Regions from separate parts of the Homo sapiens genome. Here regions 1, 2, 3, 5 and 6 are each linked to region 4. Evidence: promoter capture Hi-C in 16 types of primary human blood cells and fetal thymus (Javierre and others, 2016). All regions are on one chromosome and are shown on one strand. Each heading gives the region's core, a stretch centred on a gene start or on the middle of the fragment in contact. The rest is flanking DNA. Distances are from core to core; before and after follow the strand shown.

Region 1 (4,002 bases), core at 1,293-3,792, 830 kb after region 4:
CCAGAGTCAGATTGAATGTAGCTTTTTTACAGCTGAAATTTATGCCTTATGTGTATTCATAAAACATTGATAACTTAGTGTCACATTATCTTTACTCTTTGGTTATACTCTTCTTGAAAAGTAAATTTACTTATCAAATGATAAAGTTTCAGGGAAAGTTAAAAAAAGTTTTTTTTCTTAAGGCTTCATGGAATAGAATTCCATGAATCATAATGACTACGTAAGACCCTTTTCTGGTAATGAAAGCATGGAGTCTTAACCAAAAAGCTAAGCAGAATTGTTAGATCTTTTGGTTTCTGTCATAATGTACTATTGGAACTTCAAGTAGATATAGTACATTAATATGAAATACTTTGAAATACACCATCTTTAAAAAAAAAGGCACTTACACAAAAATCATGTAACACTAGGTAGGATGTTGAAATGACTGGTATGCAATATTTTTTAAAGCCTTCATTTTTGGTCAGCATAAGTTTCCTTTAATTATTTTTCTGTTTCCAGTTGGACTTCACTTTGAGGCTTAACATAGCAAAGTGAGTATAAAGTTCTACAATTTAGTCATTGTGGATTTCAAGTCATTTATGATGAAAATGGAAATGTGTAGTTTACTTAAGAAAATTTTCTTCTTCTGTAACATCTAACTCGTCATCCTCATCATCTTCTGCTTGTTGATCCTTTCTTAGTCGACAAGTGGATACCTGTTAAAAGTTAACACACTTTTTAAAATAAAAATACTAACTTAAAAAAATTTTACATTCTTGGTATATTTTTATGCTATTAAAGGGCACACAACAAATATTTCAAAAAAATGTCCATGTCATAATTTTTAGTAGTGAAAATTCCCTATGAATTTTAAGCTCAGAAGCCAGTTTTTTCATTCATCACATTTTTTTGAATAAAAATGTGTAATTAGCCATTTGATTTTAGTTGGATAGCCATCAATACTTCAAAAACATTAAAAGTATAGACTCTATATTATGAATATTAAAAATAAATTTTGGGTCACAGAAACAGCATTTGAGAATCATAAAATGGATGGCAAAAATAGAAGGATATTTCAGCTAGGCAGTGGGACAGAAATACTGATGTAAAAGTAGTGTGATTTAAATGGAATGAGTTGAGAATCTGAATTCACCAGTTTTAAGTTGCCTGACTGCCGCCACGTGGGGCATATTGCTTAAAACTTCTCTTGAGGGTGATTATATCTAACCCAGGGGACATTTGGGAATGTCTAGAGACACTGTTGTTTGTCAGTATTGGGGCTGTGTGTTTATGTGTGCTACTGGCATGTTGTAGGTAGAGGCGGGGGATGCTAATATCTGCTTGATGTCGTCACAATATACAGGACAGTATTCCGTCCCCTTCTTCCTCCCTGGTGGGCCCAATTATTTGTCCCAAAGTCAGCAGTGCTGAGGTTGAGAAACCCTGGGATAATGCATTCTGAAGTGCTATACAAGTGTTAGCTAAGGTGACATTATTAGTTGTAGTCAAAACTTTATATGGACTATAAAAGTAAATTTATGGAATTTATGTTCAAGGCACTTAATGCCGGAATAAAAAAAATACAATTGGGTTGGGGGAGAGATACATACATATAAAACAAAATAAATGCTTACAGGAGAATCAAATGAAAATAGAAAGTATGGTATCAAATTTACCTAAAAGTTGTATCTTGAAAATAAGTTTGTTGAATTTTATATTCTGAAGGCTAGATATGAAAAGGGCATAGCTCTCTAGATCAGGGTTTGGCAAGTTGCGGCCCAGCCAGCCTCCTGCTTTTGTAAATAGAATTTTATTAGAACACAGTCATACTGCTTTATGTGTTACTTAACAGTTGTTATTTATAGTTGTTGGGGTAGAAACCATATGGCCCACAAAGCCTAAGAATGTTAGTCTCCACATCTTAAAGAAAAAGTTTGTCAGCCCCTGCTCTAGATACTGGGAAACTCAAGCTTTCTGGATATAGAAAAAAAATGAAATGATTTCTGTGTTCAGTAAAAGCCCTTTTTTAGTATAATTTGGTATTTAACTTTATAATTTAATGAGATCCACTAAGTTTTGATAGTGAGATTTAAACCTAAGTTGGACTTCAGAATCTGCTCTTCATATTATAGCAGATAACACATCTGCATTAGCATTCTTTTGTCTTTTCCACTTCTGCTCTCAAGTGTTATGCTTTAGAGAGTAATATGTAATTACAGTATAAAAGATAATTAAGAAATAATAGAGCTGCACTTAATGCAATCTTCTGTCATTTTATAGAAGAGAAGAAATAGGTCCAGGGGAGGATAAGTTACCGAGGTGATATGACTGAGGGGAAACATTTTTAGAACTCAACAATTCCAAAGGCAGCAGCTCAAATTCCTTTAGAGTACGGTTTCTTGCTCACCTGTCCTGTTCCAGATACACACTTAGCTGACAGTGATCTCTGAAGAGGTGACTTTGAATTTGCTCTTACAATATCTAAACGAGATGAATAATCTGGTGCATACAGAGAATTTCGGAAAACCTATTGTAATGATAAAATAGCATTATAAAGTAGATGCTAAACAAAATCAAGACAGTCAAATTAAGTTCCTTAGTTAAGATTTTTTTTTAAAAAAACAACTCCCCCCAAATGGACAAAATTCCAATTATTGTAAATGTAAAAGAAAAGACAACAAAAATAAGCTAGAAAGATGAAAGCTAAAAATTCTATTTGAACTATGTAAGATGATGACAGATATTAAACAGTAATTAGTCATGAAACAATCATTTAAATGCTTTTGCCAGGAGAACTGCAGAAGTTGAGACCCTCAAAGAGCATGCAAGCTAGTAGGGAGGCTGCGACTCATACCTTTGAATCTTTCTGTTCTGCAAATTCTCAACTCTTACCAATTTAACTCTGCAGTACTGCTATGAAAATTACATAAGAGTAAATTGGAACCACTATAATTTATGGATTCCAACCTTACTAGGATCTGGAATGCCATGACTTGTCAGTTCTCTTTCCTTAAGGCACTATTTCCAAATGTTTACCACTTTTAAGCCTTTCTAGCTCCATCTTTTCTACCCTACCCCCACCATTTCTCTATATAGACTAATAGGTAAGGTTATCAGATATGAATCTCTTGAACTTTCCCTCAAGCTTTTCGCCCCTCCTTTTCCTTCTTTCTCTTTAAAAATACCATTCTGATTTAGTTCCAATGTGCATTTTTCCTTTAACCAAAACTTCAAACCCAACCAACAAAAGCTTTTGTTGTCACAGGTTCCCTCTCCTAAAAAACAAGCTCAAGATCAGTCTTTTTTTTTTTAGTTATCTCAAGGTATAACTACTTAAAAAACTTTCTTGAATATTCGACTTCATCTCCATTTTCTTTTTAAACAAATTTCTTTTCCATTTATTTATCAACAAACTACAATTGAGCTTTTCACCTCCCACTAAAATTGCTCTTCCTCACATCACCAAGGTCTTTTTTTCCTCTTCATCCTCACTGACCCCCTTCCTGAAACTTAAATGCTACTAAACTCTTTCATTGTCCTGGCTTCTCTATTTCTTTACATCTCCTTTTCTACTACTTATACCTAAAATATTTTTAAAGGGTTTCCTTTAGGCCACTTATTATATATAAAAACAATGCTGCTGCACACAGTGGCTCATGCCTATAATCCTAGCACTTTGGGAGGCCAAGGCAGGAGGATCACTTGAGCCTAGGAGTTTGAGATCAGCCTGGGCAACATGGCGAAACCCTATCTCTCCAAACAAAAAAACAATCAGCCAGGGGTGGTGGTGCATGCTTGTAGTCCCAGCTACTTGGGAGGCTGACGCAGGAGAATCACTTGAGCCTGGGAGGCAGAGGTTGCAGTGAGCCAAGATCACAACACGCCACTGCACTCCATCCTGGGCAATAGAGTGAGACCCTGTCTCAAAAAAAAAGTTTCTCTGAAAGATCTTATCTACACTGTTAATGACTACCCTTCAACTAATCCCCTGACAAGCATACCCTGTGATAGCTGTATTCA
Region 2 (4,019 bases), core at 336-2,835, 570 kb after region 4:
GGGTTTGGCTTCCAAGGGGAGAAAACAGAAGCTACAAGGCATCTTAATGACTATGCTTGGAAGTCACAGGGTATATTTTCTGTCACATTCTATTGATCAAAGCAAATCACAGGGCCAGTTCAGGTTCAAGGGGAGGGGAAATAGACCCATCTCTTGGAGTGGCAGGTGCTTAGAGGGTTGGGAGAAAAGGCTGGTGGCCTTCTCTGCAGCAATCTTTCACATGCTCCTAGACTAGGCTAGTTCTATCACATAGAGAACTGTTCCCTTCTCTGTAAAACTAAGTGCACTTGTAAATACTTATTCAATGTCTATCTACATTCTCCTATCGCCTCCCACATCAGCCTGAAAAATCGATTAGAACAGGAATCCTGTTTATGTTAATTGCTGATTAGAACTGTGGGATGAATGAATGAATGAGTAGGTGAACATGCATGCTATAGTCCAGGCATACGGTGCAGCTACCACTCATGTAATGTATGTAGTTTTCCTTTGTTGGTAATCATAAGCTTGATACTTAAAGTCATGTGGCACTTCCTCTCCTCTGGAAATATTGACCAGTATCTAATGAGGATTAAAGTTTGATGATTTGTAAGGGCACAGAAAAGCTTACAGTCCTTAAGAGTGCTTGGAAAATTCTTACTTCTCTAGGAGGAAAAGACAATGATTATGTTATCAGCAATTTGTCTTAAAGTTATTGCAACATGCCTTCTTTTTTGGTGCCTGGAAGTCATTACTGCAATATTAGAATAACTGGCCTTGCTGATGTTTGACTATAAGTGGTTGTTCTGAAAACACATTGGAAAATCCCTGCCCCAGTCCCCGTCTATCTTTTGTGTGTGTGTGTGTTTTTAATGTTAACAAAAACCAGAAGGGGAGTTTAAGAGAAAAGCAAAACCAAACATGGTTATGCAGCATTCATGGGAGTTTGTTTCAGAAGCTCACATTTCAAATGCTGAATTAATTGCAGGCTTATAAAAGTAAGAGTGAAAAAGAAAATTTTCAGAACCAGGAAATAAAAAAAGAGCAAGTCTGGGAAATCAACCAATGTGCTTTTCTTTTGAATTTTTTTTTCCATGAAAACAGAACAGGATGTGAGGCACAGGGAAATTGGGACTTTTTTTAGCCAGAGCAGGGTTTGAAAAACCTGGTTTTGACCTATGAGTCGTCTGATGCACAGATGCCAACCCTGGAGCCCTTCTGGTTGCTGCCCATCTCCTCGGCCTTCATCTGCATGACCAGCTGAGCTGAGCCAAGGCCTGTGACAAGCAGGAACTGGATTATCAGCCACCCTTGCATTGTGTCTCATATGTTCCTCTCTATATTAATCATGCTTAGGTGCCAGGAGTATTTGCTAGCATTCCTAAGATGAAATGAGTTCCTGTTGGCAATAAGTAATTGTTCATTTAAAAGACAACTTAAAATGTTTAAAATATGTGTGTGTGTGTTTGGGAGGAGTATATATATGTGTGTGTATACATATGTAAAACTTCATCAGCAGATTAAAAAGAGAGTCTTAAATTAGAAGAATTCAGGCAAGCATGGCCTCTTATCCTCGTAGAGCAAACACTCCACATCTCAAAGCTGAGAATGACATGTTTTTCATTTGGATTTCTAGGCCTAAGTTCAGCATTTATTTCTTTATAAATACATATAAACAAAGTCTCCAGGCAACCATCATGAAATAAAAGCAACTAGTTCTGAAAAGCAGAATAATGGCTTTCATTTTAGTCTTCTTTTTTGCTACTTGGGAAATCTCTCCCACTCTACACCACTCCCACCAATCGCCCATACACATTCCCCAGTAAAAACAATAGTAGTTTATGGGTTTTTTCACCACCAAAGAGGGAAAAATGTCTTGAGCCTCAACATATTAAATATCAGAGTTAAATGGGTTCACAAAATTCCATTGGTTAGTACCCTAAGTTGGCTGATCTTAGCTAAAACAAACATCAAAGAATGCGGGAGTGCTCACTGGCTTCTAGGATCATCTGCCTCATGCAGGTTGCTTTTCTTGCTGTATGGCTGCCTAGCAACCTGCCACCAGCCAGTCTCACTCCTTCCTGCTCATTTCCTTACACTGGTCCCCAAAGGCTTTCCTACTTGTTTGTCCTACAGTAGCAGGATCTAAACACCCAATGCCCGCAAGAGTGGCTTGGAAGTTGTTTGGGATAAGATCGTGGCAGTCCTTGAATGCCAAGCCCTGGAGTCTCCCACTAATTTGAGAGATAATGGAGAGCCACTGTCACTTGGAAGCAGCAGACCAATGTGATCAGAGCTGGCCCCTGTTTAGGAGGCTGTGAGGTAACAGACCACAGTGACAGCCACAGGGATGAAACAGGATGCAGAAAAAGAGCTGCATGCCTGTGGTAGAAGACACGTTGGCTGTGGGAGCCCTGGAGATACCAAAGGCGCTGCCATGCTTCAGGTCTGGGGTGGGGCCATCTGCAGATGCAGTGAGTCAGGAAGCTACACGGAGAGAACTGTAAGAACCACACTGCACTTAATGAGTCTGAAGGGTCAAAGGAACAGAGAGGCTGAGGTGCCCACATTCTCCCCAAAGCTTCCTCTAGGAGGAAAATCACCACAGAGACTATTCGAGGAGCTATGTGACTGTGTGGCTTCCTTCAAATCACAAAAGTGCTGTGAGGGAGTGGACAGGTTGGGACAACTTGTAGTGATTTCCCCAAAGCCTCACTATGCCACTACCGGCCCACAGGGCTGTCCCATGATGCAGGCTGAGCCACGTGTAGTACCTCCTCCCACTGGCCTGTGATTGGCCTAAACTGGGCAAGAGTCTGTGGCTAAGGAATCAGAGTCATTTCTTGGAAATGTCTACAGAGGTCTCCATCTGGAAAGATTTGAGCCTAGAACATGTTCCTCACCAGTGAATGCAGCCCATCTTCAAAAGGAGAGAATAAAACCCTTTTATTATTACCACTTTTATTGCTATTTATTATGAAAATTACCTTTCCAGAGGTAAGCAAAGACAAGAACTTTACCTGGTAGGGATCCAGTCCCTGAGTCCAGCCAACTCTGAGGCTAGGCTTTTTCTTGGCTGGGTCACATGAGCTAATAGATTCCCTTTTTATGGATTAAACAAGTTCAAGTTGGGTTTTAGTCACTTGTAACTTAAGAAACCCTGCATAATATTGCACTGCCATCTTGATTATACAGACAAGGGAACTGAGGCTCAGAGGTCAACTAAATCATCATAGAAACGTATATTAAGGCACAAGGTTTTGAAGCTGGATTTGTCTGGACTCCAAAGCCAGAGTTCTTTTCTTATACCATTTTGCCTCCCAATTGATCCCACAATTGCTGTTCTCAAGAGAAGGGGTAAATAAACAGACATGTTTGGATCTCTTCATGTTGTCCATAATCCCCTAGTGAAGCCATCTGTGACACTGTTTAATGCCCAGTGCCACGGAAAACAGGAGATTTGTTCATTTTGCAGATGTTTTCCATTCTCTCCAGATAGTAACTCTTCTCCCTGCTCCAGCTTTACAAGCAAAAACCTACTTCCAGCTTGGGAAGAAATACAAGACAGGTATTTGCCACCTACCACTTAAAGGGAGTGGTAGAGAACGCTGTGCTTTGATGCACAAATCCTCATTAAGGACCAAGGGTAGAGAAGGGGAAAGGTGCACTGAATGGGGCAAGCATCCACCCTCCAGCTCTCTAAGAAACAGGAGCTGACTCAGAAGTTGGGGAGAGCATGGTTGGAGATGTGGCCATTGCATAAGCTCACAAAAACTTCTCCAGCTACCGTCAACTTCTGAGTCTGTTTCTTCCAGGCTGCAGATTCACAGCAGACCCATATTGCTTGGCACAGCACAAATCAAGGGCCAACTCCAAAATTAACTTCTCATGGTGAGGACTGGGGTCATATAGATCAGTTAGGACCACGGGAGCGAGCCAGAAGAGGGAGGGTGGAGGTGAGTCTACCAGTCACCCCAGGAGATGTCAAGCATGATGGTGGGCCCTAAAAGCAGTGAAGAGGTCCATTACCTACTCTGTAG
Region 3 (4,012 bases), core at 1,513-4,012, 720 kb before region 4:
AATAGCCTAGAAGAAATGGAAAAATTCCTAGAAACACAAAACCTACCAAGACAAGATCATGAAGAAATAGAAAATCCGAACAGACCTATAAGTAGTAAGGAGATTGAATCAGTAATCCAAAATCTCCTGACAAAGAAAAGCCCTGCACTTGAGGGCTTCACTTGTGAATTCTACCAAACATTTAAAGGCAAACTAATACCAATTCTGCTCAAACCTTTCCAAAATATTGAAGAGGAGGAAACATTTCCTAACTTACGCTAGAAAGACCAAGGGACTTAAATAGCTTTCGGTTCTAAGAGTTTTAGTCATACTGTACTTAGAGCATGGATATTGATCTGGATTTCAGTCACAGGCCAGTGTGCAAATTCAGCACATGACTCCTTCCTTGAAATACAGACTTATAAACTTTTCCTGGCTGACTGAACTTGCTGGCCTTTTCCTTTACACTCATGTCTCTTTTCTGTGTATGTAGGATGGTTACTGGAAAATGTTAACAGTATACAGACACATGTTACACAAAACATGGCAATAAATGTAGAATAATGAAACTGGCAAGAGGATTACAAACTTATATGCAATAACAGACCTTGAACTGGAAAGATCCCCCAAACAAAAATTTAAGAATTAAGTTGTCTGGTTGAGAAAATTTGTCTGCCAAGTCCTCACAAGTAATTAGAAAATCAAATAAAGCTTATTCCTCTCCTAGTCTCAGTTTTGTTTTGTTTTAATGAGAAGGAGAGACAACAATAAGATAGATAATAAAGCATGTAAAATATAGTACAGCATGGTAAAATGAACATGAATTTTACAGTTAGACCCAGGTTATATGACCTTGGACTAATAACTTTACCTCTCTGTCCTTACTTCCTTTTTTTTTTTTTTTTTTTTGAGATAGGGTCTTGCTCTGTCACCCAGGCTGGAGTGTAGTGGCGCAATCTTGGCGCACTGCAACCTCAATCTCCTGGATTCAAGTGATCCTCCCACCTCGGCCTTCCTAGTAGCTGGGACCACAGGTACACGCCACCACACCCAGCAATTTTTGTATTTTTTTAGTAGAGACAGAGTTTCACCGTGTTGCTCGGACTGGTTTCCAACTCCTGAGCTCAAGTGATCTGGCAGCCTCAGCCTCCCAAAGTGCTGGGATTACAGGCATGAGCCACTATGCCTTTCTCTGTCCCTGTTTCCTGATCTACAGTGATTAAGTAAAATAAGTTCTATAAAGAGCTCAGAATAAGGTAGGTATGCAAAAAAATATGTTATACACATGATGATACTATAGCCAACACATCATTGCCAAGAGGCATGCAGAGACCTCGATACCAGGATGACAAGGAGATGGAAGCCATTCCAGTATGGCTCAAGCTAAAAGAACTGACCTGAGCTTGGGCTTATTTGTCCATCAGACTACATCACAGTATTTAAAGGCAAGCTTAATCTGATCCAGGCTGGCACTTATACCCAAGGGCCTAGAAATGGAGGCCTAGAAAGATATGACTGTGGAGATAGTCATAGTCAAGTGGTTAACAATTTGATTCCAGACAGACTCATTCATGTTAAAACATACCCTTGGCCAGGACCAAAAGAGATAAGGGGCTGATCCCCCAAAAACAGGGGTCAGCACAAGCCAGGAGTTTGTCAGGGCCCTTGTACTAGGCTGAAAAATGGCCCCCAAAATGATATCAAATCACATCGAATCCCTGGAACCTAAAAATGTGACCTTATTTGGAAAAAGAATCTTTGCAGATGTGATTGAGTTAAGGATCTGAAAAAGAGGCACTTATCCTGAATAATCTGGGTAGGCCCTAAATGCAATCACCTGTATCCTTATAGAATAAACACAGAGGAGAAGGCAATGGGAAGACAAAGGCAGAGATTATACTGATGTGGCTACAAGCTACAGAATGCCAAGGAATCCCAATAGCCACCAGAAGCTGGAAGCAGCATGGAGCAGATTCTCCTTTAGAGCCTACAAAGGGAGTATAGTACTGCCCATAACTTGATCTCAGACTTCTGGCCTCCAGAACTCAGAGAATAAACTTCTACTGTTTTAAGTGGTGATTTGTTACGGCAGCCCTAGAAGACTCCTACAGCCCTGGACAACGCTTTGGGGTTTGGACAAAATTTCAGCCCAAGAACAGAAATGGAATTCAATCTAGAAGTTGAGTAGAAGCCCATCCACAAGGGTTCATGGAGAAGACAGCAGTGTGGCATTTTGCTCAATGCGTACCAGACCTAGGCCATCCAGACCAATTCCAGATCTAACCATGATGGGGAGGAGCAAGTCTTGGGTTAGCTAGGAATTGGGTTCACCTTGCAGATGGGATATTTCAACAGCCACAGCCAGGCTGGGCAAACAGGAACTGGCAAAGCAGTGGGTGATGTTTTGGCAATAGATGATAAATGTCTTCTACAATCTGACCACATATAATTAGAGATAATGTCAGTTTCAAAAGGAAAAACACAAAGGGTCAGAAAATATGCTGCTCTTGCTGCGGAAGGAATCTGTCCAAGGACCTGGAATCACTAGTTCCTTCCCTTCACAGACCAGGCACACACTAGCCCTAGCTCTGGGGTACGGAGTGTGCCATCTGTTCTGGCCCTTTCTGTAGCCCCCATACCCTCTCTGGAACTAAGATCTCCCTGTGTGCTCAGGGAGACTCCTTCTTCAGCCAAGAGCTTCTGTGACTTGAACAGACCATTCTGTACCCATATTAGTAAGAAAGGAGAACTGGGAAAAGGAAGAATTTACTATCCCTACAGGGTTCAGACTCATGTCTGAGACTCAGCCTCATTGTTAGAATACAACAAGGATCTCTTACCTCCCCCACAACAACAAAAAAAAATGGTATCATAATGGGCTCTCAATTTAGATGTTCTCAAAAGCTATACTTCTCCCTCCCTATAGGAGAAATAAATGTGCATCAGTTATAGTCCCTGTCCTTCAGAAGTTTGTGTCCTCATACATAATATGAGGTCAAAACACAGTCACTAATCTGGAGAGATGTGAGTACAGTAGAGTGGCACAAGCTATCAGAGTTGAAGAAGTTGAGAACAGAGCATGAGAGATATTTGTATTAATATGTCAATGGCAGGAATGAAAGGATTCCAATATATGGCAATCTGACATTAAATTCATAGCATCAATTTTATGGCCACTAGACATAACCTGGGCAACATGGTGAAACCCCACTTCTACAAAAAATATAAAAATTAGCTGAGCATGGTGGTGTGTGCCTGTAGTCCACACTACTGGGAGGCTGAAGTGGGAGGATGGCTTGAGCCCAGGAGGTAGAAGTTGCGGTAAGGCATGATCATGCCACTGTACCCCAGCGTGGACAACAGAGTGAAACCCTGTCTCAAAAAAAGAAAGAGAAAGAAAGGGAGGAAAGAAAAAGAAAGAAGGAAGGAAGGAAGGAAGGTGGTGGGGAGGGAGGTAGGGAGGCAGGGAGGAAGGGAGGCAGGGAGGGAGGGAGAGAGGAAGGAGTCTTATCCAGAATGACCATCATGATGTTGAAATAAAAGAATGCAATGTATGGTTATAATGAAAATCTCTGAATAGTCAAAGAATTTCTAAATCATTTCACCACTCTGGGCTTGATCTTGATTGCTTTATCTATCAAATGAAAGAGGTGTTTTTTTGTTTTTTGAGACACAGTATGTTGCCCAGGCTGGAGTGGAGTACGGTGGCGTGATCTCGGATCACTGCAACCTCAGCTGAAAGAGTTTTATACATTATCACTAAAGTCCTTTCCAGCCCCCAAATATTCCTTAGACAGTTCATGGCAAGGTCGATACCAACAGGTACCTTTTGTAAGGCCATAAAGATTGGTTGACATGTGAGTCGGTAACTGAGGAAATAGAGCAAATTGGTCTGCATAAAACCTTGGGTTCCTTCCCAAGAGGCAATATGGCCAATCAAGGGAAATGGAAGACTGATGGACACCAAACCTAAGCCCAGGCCTGTGGAACATGTCCCATCACCTCCATCAATTTGGTTTCACTTTGCCTTCAT
Region 4 (3,749 bases), core at 407-2,906:
TAAAAGCAATAAATATCAATGCAAGAACAAATAATAAAAGATAAACTATAGCTAGCTAATAGAGGAAACTGGATGGCTGAGGAAGGATGTGGAGAGGAGATTTACTTTAGAAATTCATTTATTATTAAATATTTCAGACATACCAGAAGGTACAAACAATAATATAAGGCATGCTTGTGAAATTAACATTAACCTAAATAACAAAACATTACCAAGGCATGTGAAGCCTTTCTGTTCTTCTCCATTACATCTCCTTCCAGTTTACCACTATCTTGAAATTTTAGTTACTCCAATACATGACTTTATAATTTCATGACATATGTACACTCCTAAAATTTTATATTCTTTTGCACGTTTTTAAATATATAGATGTTATTTTACACTATATATTTTTTATTTCCTTTTCTAAGAGATGGGTGTCCCCACTGGCCTCCAACTCCTGGGCTTAAGAGATTCTCCTGTCTCAGCTTCCCGAGAAGTTGGGACCACAGGAACACGCCACCGCACCCGGCTTGCGATGAGAGGAGTTAAACTTGTTTTGTTTTGGTTTGTGTCTTTTTTTTTTCTTTTTGTGAATAACGGGGTCTCGCTATATTGCCCAGGCAGTTCTCCAACTCCTGGGCTCAAGCGATCCTCCCGCTTCATCCTCCCTAAGTGCTGGATTACAGGCGTGAGCCAAAGCGCCCACCAACCCTGTTTTTTGGGTTTTTCATGCTAGTAAACATAGCACTGGTTCATTCTTCGTACCTGCTATATACTATTATATAAATACGCCACTATTTACTTATTACTTCTGTCAATGGCACTTATGTTTCCTGCTCTTTTGCAACTTATAAAGTTTGCTATGAATATTCTTGTATTTGTAGATACGTGGGCGAGAATTTTCCTAGAAGAGTGGTAGGCACGTGTAATTTTACAAGCTATTTCCTAGTTGCTCTGCTAAGGGTTTGTGCCATTTAGACTACCAAACCCGCTGAGTTTATCTCGTTGCTCCAAAGCTCATCAACACCCGACAGAGAGGCTTACTTTTCATTCTGCCTCCTGTTTTATTGTTCATGGTACTTCACGTTACACAATTCCTCGAATTTTATTTCAATTACTCCTCACAATCACCCTGTAGGTTAGGTACGATTTTTCACATTTTACAGATAAGAAAACAAAGAATCTCTTCGTTGGTTGAAACAACAGTTTTTCTTCTATTTAAATCAATGTCTTACTTTTCAACCTCGCTCACTGTTATCTTTTTGCTCCCAGCGCTGGAAAAAGTGGGACATCCCCTTCGGTGGGTGTACGGGGTTGGTATCCAAAGTTGGCAGCTTTCCCTCCCCCTCCTCCATCCACCGTCTCCAAAACCCCGTCTCCGCACTTCGCCACCCGGAGACCGCTGTAGCTCTGTAACGCGGAGGAACGACAGGGTTTGAACCACTGGAGACCCCGTAGTCCCCATCTCACTTCCCTCTGCCCCCCCTCTGCGTTCTAGGGGGCGCCCTCCGCCGCGCTGGAAAAGGCGGGGCCGGCAACTCCGGGCAACAAGATGCGTTGGGATAGGCCGAGGTTTGCGGCGCTAGTGCTCTGGTCACCGGAAGTCCCTCTGTTTCTCCCTCTCCTGAGTCGCTGTCGCGGAGGCTGGAGCGCTGCCCCGGAAGTCCTCCCCCCTGTTCCCCGCCCGCGGCAAACATGGCGGTGGACTCGGCGATGGAGCTGTTATTTTTAGATACTTTTAAACACCCGAGCGCTGAGGTAAGGCTTGGCGACTTGATTCTGACGCTGCTTCTTGACTTGGGATCTTTACAAAAAAACCGTTAGGCGTTCTCCACTTTTCCTTCTGCAGATTGCTTCTTTAATTTCTCGCTTACACACAGACACCCTCCCCCGAGCTGTGTGAGCATCGCGTCTGAGGGAGGGCTGCAGCAGCCCCTTCATTTCCTTGCTTTAACTTGGGCCCTCCGTGTCTTTGGTCGAGTTGGCTTTTCTGCTTGCATGGCTTTATTTTTTATTTTTCCTGTCAGGTTTGGGCCTTGAGAAGGATCAGGGTTCTCAGGTTTACCTCAGATGGCGTTTGGGAGGGGTCTTGGTTTGCCAGTAGTGTTTGACAGTAGTGCCGGAGTCTGAGCAGTTTACGTTGGCTTCGTGGTTTCCGAATCACGATGTTTCTAAATCCTTTCTCTTTGGCCTCTTTTCTGTCGGGAATTATGTTCCCCAGTTGTGACACTTACTTGGTTTAGGATTACGGTGCTCTCCGATTTGGCCTGAAACTTTAATACTTGTCTCTCGGAGAGATTTCACACATTAGGAATGAGATGCATTCACGGAGAATACTTGCGAAGAGGGGAGAGTTGAGAGAATTATAGTTAAACTCATCAGCAGACATCTCCTTTGAGGTTGGAGGTGGAATGTTGTGGAGTAATATTTCTGTACAAAACTACTTGAGCGCCCCTTAATGTACAATTGGCCCTGCAATATGTAGATTAAACATAGCTGGTTAACTAAAGATTCCTGAAAGCAGACCAAAAATGAACTTGAATGAAGTCTACGGAGAAATTGTTAAAAAAAAAAACGAACTTCACATTTTTCTGTCTTAATGTAAGCTTAATTTAGAGAACTGTTCTTTCTTTGGAGATTATTTTTTTCCTTTTATTTTTATCAAGTGTGCTCTTGTATCAAGCTTTTTGAGGACAGATATAATTTCTCTTTTTCTCAGCTGTATCTCCAGTGCCTAGGACAGTATTAGCAAAATGTAGGTGCTCAATAAATATTTGAATGGAAAATGTTTAAAATGTTCTTTCTTTTATGAGATAGTAATGATAGTGGGTAGTGATTGTATCATAATGCTTTACTTGGCAAAATAAAAAGTTGACAGCTGTGATCTAATTTAACGAATGGTTTATAGGTTTGTAAAAGTCAAAAGTTGGAGAACTTTGAGTTAGCATTTCTTACTGACAGTTAATTTATGGTCTGACATTTAATGTGGGTCAGTTAGCACTGTTTGTTCAATGACTATATCTAACATTCTAGCCGAGATTTAGAAAACCCTCAATGGAGGCAGTAGTTGGATCAGAACAAACTTATGGTGTATAGAAATAGAGAACAGTTAAAACTGAAAGAGCCTGGCGCAGTGGCTCATGCCTGTAATCTCAACGTTTTGGGAGGCGGAAGCAGAAGGATTGCTTGAGTCCAGGAGTTTGAGACCATCCTAGGCAACACAGTGCAACCCCTGTCTCTACAAAAGAAAATTAACTAGTTGTGGTGGTTTGATCTTGTTGCCCCAGCTACTCGGGAGGCTGAAGTGGAAGGATCATTTGATCCTGGGAGTTCAAGGCTGCAGTGAGCTAAGATCACACCACTGTGCTCCAGCCTGAGCAACAGAGTGAGACCCTGTCTCGAAAGGAAGAAAGAGAAAAAGGAAAAAGAGAAAGAGGCATGTGATGAATTAGTTTAGTACTATTCTAGTTTAGGAAAATTGGCCTTCATTAGTTTATCATGTATTTCTATTCTTTTATTCATTCTTAGGTAAACATTGAATACCTTGAGAGCATAGGGCAGATGGTAAATGCTTTCTTCTGGGGTGATTGGGGAAGGCTTAGCAGAGATCACATTTAAATCAAGTCTTGAAGGAGGAAGTAGGGGTTTGTGGGTGATACGAAATATTGAAATGTTTGTTTTCAAGAAGTTATAACTCAGTATTGGAGATTAGATTCACAAAATTGTGATTTGAGTTAGAATGTGATGATCACATAAAGAAGCACAGT
Region 5 (4,172 bases), core at 976-3,475, 790 kb after region 4:
AGATGAGCCAATTTTGGGATAATCCCAGAGCTACCTATGTATTTTAGCTTTTATTTTGTTGTCTGGTAACTACTTGGTACTTGCCTGTCTTCCTCACAAGACTATACTGAGTAGAGGAATTTTTGCCTCATTCATCAAGATCCTAGATCCCACCCTCATCATTGCTATCCTCACAGTCCTCTTAATCACTCTTATATTCAATAATAATATTAACAATAATGATATTAACAACTAGATCACACCCTGTCCACCCCAAACTCTGGCATACTAAGCATCTTCAATGTTCATTCAGTAATTCCTATTGTAACTCCTAGTCATCTAACTCTTATTCTCTTGGATTTGTTACCTCTTTAGTTCCAATTCATCTACTTACTTTCCATTTTATACCCTAGAAGTGGTTATCACCAGCATCTGCTGCCAAAGCTCTAACTCTAGGCCTCAATGCTCTCATCCACAAAATAAGAAACAACTGGCTGGGCGCAGTGGCTCATGCATGTAATCCCAGCACTTTGGGAGGCCAACGTGGGTGGGTCACAAGGTCAGGAGTTCAAGACCAGCCTGGCCAACACAGTGAAATCCCATCTCTACTGAAAATACAAAAAATTAGCCGGGCGTAGTGGCAGGTGCCTGTAATCCCAGCTACTCGCTGAGGCAGGAGAATCGCTTGAACCTGGGAGGCGGAGGTTGCAGTGAGCCGAGACTGCACCACAGCACTCCAGCCTGGGCAACAGAGCGAGACTCCATCTCAAACAAAAATAAAATAAAAAAAAAAGGAAAAATCTGGCCAAATAAGAATAATCCTGATTTCTCTAATGATTACCATGTACAGGCACTGTGGTAAAGGTATTTTTATTATGTCCAACTTACAGACAATAAAATGAAGTTTTGAAATCTTCTCAAGGTCCAAGGATACCAAACTAATGACTTGCAAATCCAGGGTTCAAATCTAGCGTTTCTGGTGCCCTTAAATGTATTATACTGCATCCTATACAGAACATATACCAGATATTTCTGGTGTAAACATTCTGTAGCGCACTGAAAAACAAACAGGCTACGGTACAGACTGAGTACTGTACTTAGAAATTATACTGCTGAATTATTAGACTAATGTTTCTTAGATTGATTTTTTTCTGTTTTAAAATGATTTACACAAAAGGGTTTCTCATTCTAGCCTGAAATTACTAATGGATGAAATGTAGAAAGTTTTTTAACAACAGAACAAAAAAATTGAAACATACTCACAACTTCTCCATAACGTGCAGCTGAAATTCTACGTAGAGGAAAATTCCCTGTGCTGCTGAAACATAATCCCCCTGTCTTCATAAATAAATGAGGGAAAAAATAGAAGCTTATGAAAAGGCATAAGCAACTGAATTAAAAATATATATACTTTATCAATTTGGTTAGCCTTACTAAAATGTTAGGTTCTGAACATGCACAGGACCTGCTGGTATTAACAAATGTTGGCTCACATCGGACGCACCTGTTCAATATAACAAAAATAATTTTAAAAATGTTAATAAATTATACTAAACCTAATAGAAAAGCTGTCTTTCTAAACAATGGATTAGAGTAGATTCATTCAGTAAGCAATTATGTAAATATGTTAAACAAATTTAAAATAACACTGATTTGAATAGTTTTAGGCCATTCTGTGTTACAAAGTATAAAGTAAGTAAAACTAATCAATAATAGAAGAGTATTTTTTAACTACATGGAATGTACATAATGAATAATTCTGAGTATGAAAGATAATTAAGTCACTCAACTAACAAGAGAGCAACAAACTCATATAAATGAAACCCAATTTTTACAATTAGTTATATCAAATATACTTTCCTTATTTTATGTGCCACAAAGTAAAAAGGTAGCATAACCCGAAGAGAAATGTATCTCTAGCTCCTATCAAACCTACAGCCAACACTTTTAAATAAATTCTATTTACCATCTTTGTTTATTTTAGAAAAATACTTCATATTTTTCATTAATGAATGAGACAGAGGGAGGGAGGGTACTGGTCCAATGAGGACAGTGATGAGTGAATATATGGGTATTCATCACTTGCAAAATAGAGCAGGTAGGAGTCGGGCTGGGGCATGACATAAAACACACTAGGCTTGGGGAAATATTGGGCAAAAAAAATTGGTATTTGGATGCCATAACTCAGGTCAGCCTTAGAGAAAAGATGATCCAACACTAAGTAGCCCTCAGAAAAGCTGCTCAACTATTTTCCATATTAAACTTGGAAACTAAAGAAAAAACTGTGCCCGGAGGGAAGTCATGATGTAGGCCTCTAATAAATTAAAGATGCTGAAATTGGTATAATGTGCTTAAATTAGAGGGAAGTATATAGGCAGGCAGGGGTGTGTGTGTGTGTGTGTGTGTGTTTCACAAATACATGCACAAAGGGGGAACAGGAAGCAACAGAAAATGGGACTATAAATCAGGGTACCTGGGCTATTATTAGCATACATTTATGTTTTTCTATGTAACATTATAATACATAAGGGCTTTAGTACAGTACTTAGCACATAATTATATTACAGATTATATACAAATTATGTAACAACAAACAAAAATAGCTACCCTGTACAGAGTGGTTACTATGTAGCACTATACTAAGAACTGTATCTATTTACTTTATTACTTATTATTTCTGAGCCATTACAGCCTATGAAGTGGGTGGTAACATTACCATTCTAAAGACAAGGGATTGTGAAGTAGTGAGCTATCCAAGGTCAGACAACTAACAGACTGGACCAAAATTTGAACCCTAGTGTGTCTCACGCTCTGGGCCTCAGCTTCTGTATCTGTTAATGTCTACTTCTATCCTTCCTTGGGTTATTGTGAAAACTAAGTGATATGATAGGAAAACACTCTTAAAAGTACAAATTATACACTAATATAAGATGATATTAATGAAGTTAGCCCCCATCACACTGCTTACCTGTCTCCTAAAGCATTTACTACCATAAAAGAGTTTTCATTTCCATCACAGAGCTCACAAGTTGCTTGAGACAACAATGTTCCATTAATGTCTCTTTCCACTGAACAGTTTAGAAACAAAATAAAGATGTAACTCATAGTAAACATATAAGCTTCTACATATTCAGAAAATATTTAACAAAACCCAATTGTAACTATTATTCTATTAATTCTCAAAACACTTTATTTGCATTAAAGGCATAACAAGTATCTCCATAATAAAGTGTAGAGAAGTGATCCCTTCGTACCCGTCCATGCCTCCAAAAAAAAAGAGAAGTGATGCCTTCCCTATTCTCACATAGTAAAATATAGAAAATCATTTTCCAAGTCATCGTAACAATTAAGTCAGTATTTTTTTCCTCAAAAATTTTCTTACCTCTTATCTATACATTTCTGTCACACTAGGATGGGGAAGCAAGTATTTTCATAGATTACTGATAAGTTTCTGCAACTTAGAAGGCTTTTAGTAGTATCTATTAAAGTTTCAAATTCACATCCTTATAACACCACAATTTTGTTTTTAGATACCTAACTTACAGAAACACTTGAACATGTATATAAGGATATTCACTGAGGCATTATTTGTTAGAAACAACACGAATATTTAAAATAGCAGAATGATGGTATATCCATGCTACAAAATACTATGGAATATATTAAAAAGAATCAGGTAAGGCCAGGTGAGGAGGCTTATGCCTGTAATCCCAGCCCTTTGGGAGGCTAAGGTGGGTGGATCACATGAGGCCAGGAGTTCAAGACCAGCCTGGCCAATATGGCAAAACCTTGTCTCTACTAAAAAAAAAAAAATACAAAATTAGCTGGGTGTGGTGGCACGTGCCTGTAATCCCAGCTACTCAAGTGTCTGAGGCATGAGAATCACTTGAACCTGGTAGGTGGAGGTTGCAGTGAGCTGAGATCACACCACTACACTCCAGCCTGGGCAAGAGTGAGACCCTGTTTCAAAAAACAAACAAACAAAAAGAATCAGGTAAATCTAACAGAGCATCAGAGCATACCGTTAACTGAAAAAAGTATGCTAGAACAATATTTGTGTATGAAACATTTATGCAAACATACCACTTATGTTTCCTGTGGCTATATAGTGTAGATCCTTATAATAAAACAGGGAAAAAAAATTCTGAATGTGCACACACAGAGACACACACACCAAAATTAGTACATCATGA
Region 6 (3,799 bases), core at 1,121-3,620, 700 kb before region 4:
TCTCACATTAACTCTAAACTCACTATTTGCTTTACCAAATTGTTATCCTTGTTGTTCCTCTTCTCTCTTTAGTTCCTTCAGCTCCAATTAAAGCCTGGGTCAGATATTCCACTGCCACTGGGATGCTTGTCATTCTGTACTTTCCACTTATGTTTTTCTGTGTCTGAGTATATTTACATTTATTCCCTATCTGGAACAACACTCCCTTCTAATGCATGTCTCCTGCTGCCTTATCTGTTTAATTCACACACTGCAGATTGATTTTTCTATTTAAATTTTTTCGATTTTTTAAATCCATTGAATGCCCATGTCCTAAACCCTGTGCTAGCTTATCAATAAAAGGCAAAACACTGGCCAGTAAGGAACAAAGAAGCAAATGATTACTCCTGTGGCCTGAAATGGAAGGGCTCTGATGACAGAATGCCTGAGTTCAAAGCCTCACTCTGCCACTTACAAGCTCTGAAGCCTTAAGAAGGGATGTTATCTTCTAAAACCTGTTTCCTCACTCTTAAAAACTAAACATATTTCATGGAGATACTCTGAGGATTAAATGAAATAATACATGAAAACTATGCCTATGGTGCAAAAGACAGCTAGGTACTGCAGGCACACTGGGTTCTAATTAAGGTGTCTTTCTCATCCATTAGTCCTGCTTTCTTGTTACGTTATATCTCAGGGACAAGAATCTTTATTCTACTACTAGTTTTCCATTTTATCTCAGGAAATACATATAATTACAGGTGCCTTCTGTTTTTACAAATGATCTTTTAAAAAAATACATTCTGGTTTACTTCTAAAAAGTAAACATTTCATTAAGATTTTCTTATGTATGAAATATTTTGTACGTACTTTGATTTAGTTGTAGCACAGACAAAATCTATGTTAGATGGAATTTCAGTAAACCAAAGAACAGCCTGTTTTCATAGCTCGAGGCTCCTATCACATACTATTAGTCCAAGTGGGATGCCGAAATCAATTATACCTGATTTCTACCTCCTGCACAGCTGTAAGAAGAGATACCAGTTGCATATATATGCGCAGGTAAATGTTTGTATTCACAGATTTTTTATTAGTTGCCCCTTTCATGAAACAGAATTTGCACCCATAGAAAGACAAACACATGTGTTCATCTGCATATGCAAATTTTATGTGTGAAGTACTTTATACTGTCCAGAGCACTTTTTATATATGCATATTGACTTACCTGCTCCACAAGAGAAAAACCCAAGATGCTGATCAAGAATTTTTACCTCCATTTTATAAATGAAGAGATTGAGGTACTTGTGTTAAATTCATCAAACACATATTAACCACCTGATAGGTCCTAAGGATTAAATGAACAAATTTTGATGAACAAATAAATGGACACTTCCTGTCTTCAATGAGCTTTCAGTCTAGATGAGGAGATGGGCTTTAAATAGATTATTCCACAAATAAGTATTTATTTTCCATTTGATATGTGACATAAAGGGAACATATGGGATACTATAAGCATAGATAATGGACACTCTAACTAATATGAAGGGTCAGGGAATACTTCTCTGAGCAGATAATCAAACCACAATATGAAAAATGAGTAGGAGTTAGACAAAGAGAGGTGACCATTGGAGCCAGAGCACACGCATGTTTAGAAGCTCCCTGAGAAGGGGAGGAGCTGGGGGTGTTCCTCTGGTGGAAGGAACAGAGAGTATCTGGCCATGCTGGAGCATAATGAGTAGGGAAAGAATGGCCACTGACTGGGCTGGAGAGAGAGTGGAGGGACATTTGGCTTAGGGTCCTGTAATCCTTTTGAGGATTTTGGAAAAAGTTTGTCCTGTGTTCAATGGGCCAGATTTGTGTTTCTTAAAAAAGTCATGTTGGCTGCTGTGCAGAAAATGGCTTGGGAGTTGGAGGGGCAAGACAGGAAAGGACACAGGAAGACTAGTCAATGGGCAGTAGTTAGAGTGGTCCAGGAAAGAGAAGATGGGAGCTGTGACCTGCGTGGTAGCAATGGCTATAGGGAAAAGGTCAAATTTGAAATATTTAGAATATAGAATTGACAGAATTCAGTGATTGACTAAGGAGGGTAAGAAAGAAAGTTGTTAAGAATGACTCCCAAATAAGGTGCCTTGCTCAAGGTCATATCAGTTATTGCAAAGCAAGGATCCAGATTGGTTACTTGATTCCTAATCCATTATGCTTTCTATTATACCACTTAGCAGAAAGCCATGTAATATGGGAAGAATCTTAGCTGATGTTGCTGTTGGAACTGCTGTTATCTTCAAACTATCCAGACATCAAGTTTCTTTAGTCCCATTGTGCAGATCTGATAGGATTTAACAGAGAACCACAGTGTCTGGGCAGAAGATTGTATTGGGTTGGATTTGGGGCATTCCTGTCGTAAACATCTTTAAAATAGTGAATTCTACTTTTTAGCTGGACAAAAGAACAAAGCTCTTGGTGACATCTTATGTGTGATTCCCTCTACATTTTAGAGGGAAAGACCTGACAGTTTGTCTTTCACTGGAGTCATGACTTTATATTAGATATGCTTTTATGTACATAGTTATGAAAGAGAAATATATTTCAGCCCTGAAAAGAGTACTGATTTACATGGCCAGGGCATAAAGGAAATTGAATCTATCCTGCCTATTTGCGTTGTTTGATTTCTAGATACAGCTCTGGCTTGAGGTAATGCTGAATGACTTTAGATTTTAGAAAAAGATTTGTCTTTCACTTGTTGGTGGAAAAGGGGAGAGAATAGTAGTAGGAAGCATGGTGGCAGTAATAAGTACTACAGATAAAACGAAGGCATTTTCAAGCCAATCGAATTTTACTCTCAATTATTTTTTAAACAACTTGCAAGACTGGATTATTCCATAGACTGGTACTAATTATGATCTAATAGAGTAAATCGTAGCAGTGGAATGATTTCTTAGCTGCAAGTTAGTTTTATGTTTCTCAAAGGACAGTGTTTGTAGGAAAATGTGGTGGTGTGAATAGATTTGAATAAACTACTAAATTTTAAATTAAATTAAAAAGCTGTATTTAGCATTATGGTTGAGATTTTACACATACAAAATGTCAGGAAATTCTAAATTATAGTTCCCACAACAGCAATAATTCAGCCAAATTGCACATATGTATTAAGGCATTAAAGTTAACACTCTGTGCAATCATGTAATAAACTATATATGCATAAGAAAGCAGGTCATAGTAGCTTTGGGAACTATCAATTTGCATTTCCTGACTTGTACATTCGAAGTCTGAGTTCAAATGTGTACAAATGTAGTTGTTGAATTTCCAAATGTAGAAATGCAACTTCATAAATTGCTAACAGTTTGAAAGAAAATATGGACTTGCCTATGAAACTTGTATAGGTTTTAAATGTTTCATTATTATTATGGTTAATAGTATTTTTAGAAATACAAAGCATTTATTCTCAAAGAAATTTTCAGGCCAAAAGTATTTGCATTTTGAAATTAGCGTATCTGAACTTTGAAGGGAAATAAATGAAAAAAATCTAATGATGAGTTTATTTTTTCATTACAGAAGTATTATGTGCTTAATGAAAGAATAAAAACAAAATTGAAACATGTATAAAGAAAAAGATAATAATCTCCCTTCCTTCCCTTCAACCACTCCTGATGCAACCAGGGTTACTGTGTAGTATATAACTTTCTACATTTTGCTCCATGTTCTTTTTTTTTTGAGACAGAGTCTCGCTTTGTCGCCCAGGCTGGAGTGCAGTGGCGCGATCTCCCCTCACTGCAATCTCCGCCTCCCGGGTTCACGCCATTCTCCTGCCTCAGCCTCCTGA

Evidence for each region. Contacts are between HindIII fragments. The CHiCAGO score rates a contact against its expected background, and 5 or more counts as called.
Region 1: a contact is called between a fragment that was not itself captured here and the fragment with the promoter of VIRMA in region 4, in 1 of 17 cell types (non-activated CD4 T cells). The highest score is 5.8, in non-activated CD4 T cells.
Region 2: a fragment that was not itself captured here is called in contact with the fragment with the promoter of VIRMA in region 4 in 5 of 17 cell types (total CD4 T cells, naive CD4 T cells, naive CD8 T cells and 2 more); the score reaches 6.9 in total CD4 T cells.
Region 3: a fragment that was not itself captured here is called in contact with the fragment with the promoter of VIRMA in region 4 in 4 of 17 cell types (naive B cells, monocytes, total CD8 T cells and 1 more); the score reaches 6.1 in naive B cells.
Region 5: a fragment that was not itself captured here is called in contact with the fragment with the promoter of VIRMA in region 4 in 3 of 17 cell types (naive CD8 T cells, total CD8 T cells and fetal thymus); the score reaches 6.3 in naive CD8 T cells.
Region 6: a contact is called between a fragment that was not itself captured here and the fragment with the promoter of VIRMA in region 4, in 1 of 17 cell types (neutrophils). The highest score is 6.8, in neutrophils.

What each region holds. Positions count from the first base shown.
Region 1 is chr8:93,724,901-93,728,902 of GRCh38, reverse strand. It overlaps CIBAR1 (CBY1 interacting BAR domain containing 1), which reads right to left. Exons shown (of 9, transcript NM_145269.5): 8 at 2,390-2,509; 9 at 1-698. The coding sequence ends at 606. It overlaps RBM12B (RNA binding motif protein 12B), which reads left to right. Exons shown (of 4, transcript NM_001377960.1): 4 at 1-748. Among named protein-coding and RNA genes, the nearest start is that of RBM12B-AS1, 13 kb to the left of the region's middle. The HindIII fragment of the contact is 1,175 bases long and covers 1,955-3,129 here.
Region 2 is chr8:93,984,255-93,988,273 of GRCh38, reverse strand. No RefSeq gene overlaps it. Among named protein-coding and RNA genes, the nearest start is that of PDP1, 69 kb to the right of the region's middle. RefSeq lists enhancers at 2,235-2,284, 2,355-2,474. The HindIII fragment of the contact is 1,955 bases long and covers 608-2,562 here.
Region 3 is chr8:95,275,075-95,279,086 of GRCh38, reverse strand. All of the region lies in intron 1 of CFAP418-AS1 (CFAP418 antisense RNA 1), which reads right to left. Among named protein-coding and RNA genes, the nearest start is that of TRS-AGA2-5, 7.3 kb to the right of the region's middle. The HindIII fragment of the contact is 2,661 bases long and covers 1,432-4,012 here.
Region 4 is chr8:94,551,376-94,555,124 of GRCh38, reverse strand. It overlaps VIRMA (vir like m6A methyltransferase associated), which reads left to right and starts at 1,656. Exons shown (of 24, transcript NM_015496.5): 1 at 1,656-1,740. The coding sequence starts at 1,678. VIRMA-DT (VIRMA divergent transcript) reads right to left here and starts at 1,412. Exons shown (of 2, transcript NR_183271.1): 1 at 1,218-1,412. RefSeq lists an enhancer at 1,343-1,962. The HindIII fragment of the contact is 4,366 bases long and covers 1-2,590 here.
Region 5 is chr8:93,762,717-93,766,888 of GRCh38, reverse strand. TMEM67 (transmembrane protein 67) reads right to left here. Exons shown (of 28, transcript NM_153704.6): 4 at 2,948-3,047; 5 at 1,414-1,483; 6 at 1,243-1,317. Among named protein-coding and RNA genes, the nearest start is that of TMEM67, 9.9 kb to the right of the region's middle. The HindIII fragment of the contact is 1,750 bases long and covers 1,351-3,100 here.
Region 6 is chr8:95,253,201-95,256,999 of GRCh38, reverse strand. The region is part of intron 4 of CFAP418 (cilia and flagella associated protein 418); the gene reads left to right. Among named protein-coding and RNA genes, the nearest start is that of CFAP418-AS1, 14 kb to the left of the region's middle. The HindIII fragment of the contact is 7,599 bases long and covers 1-3,799 here.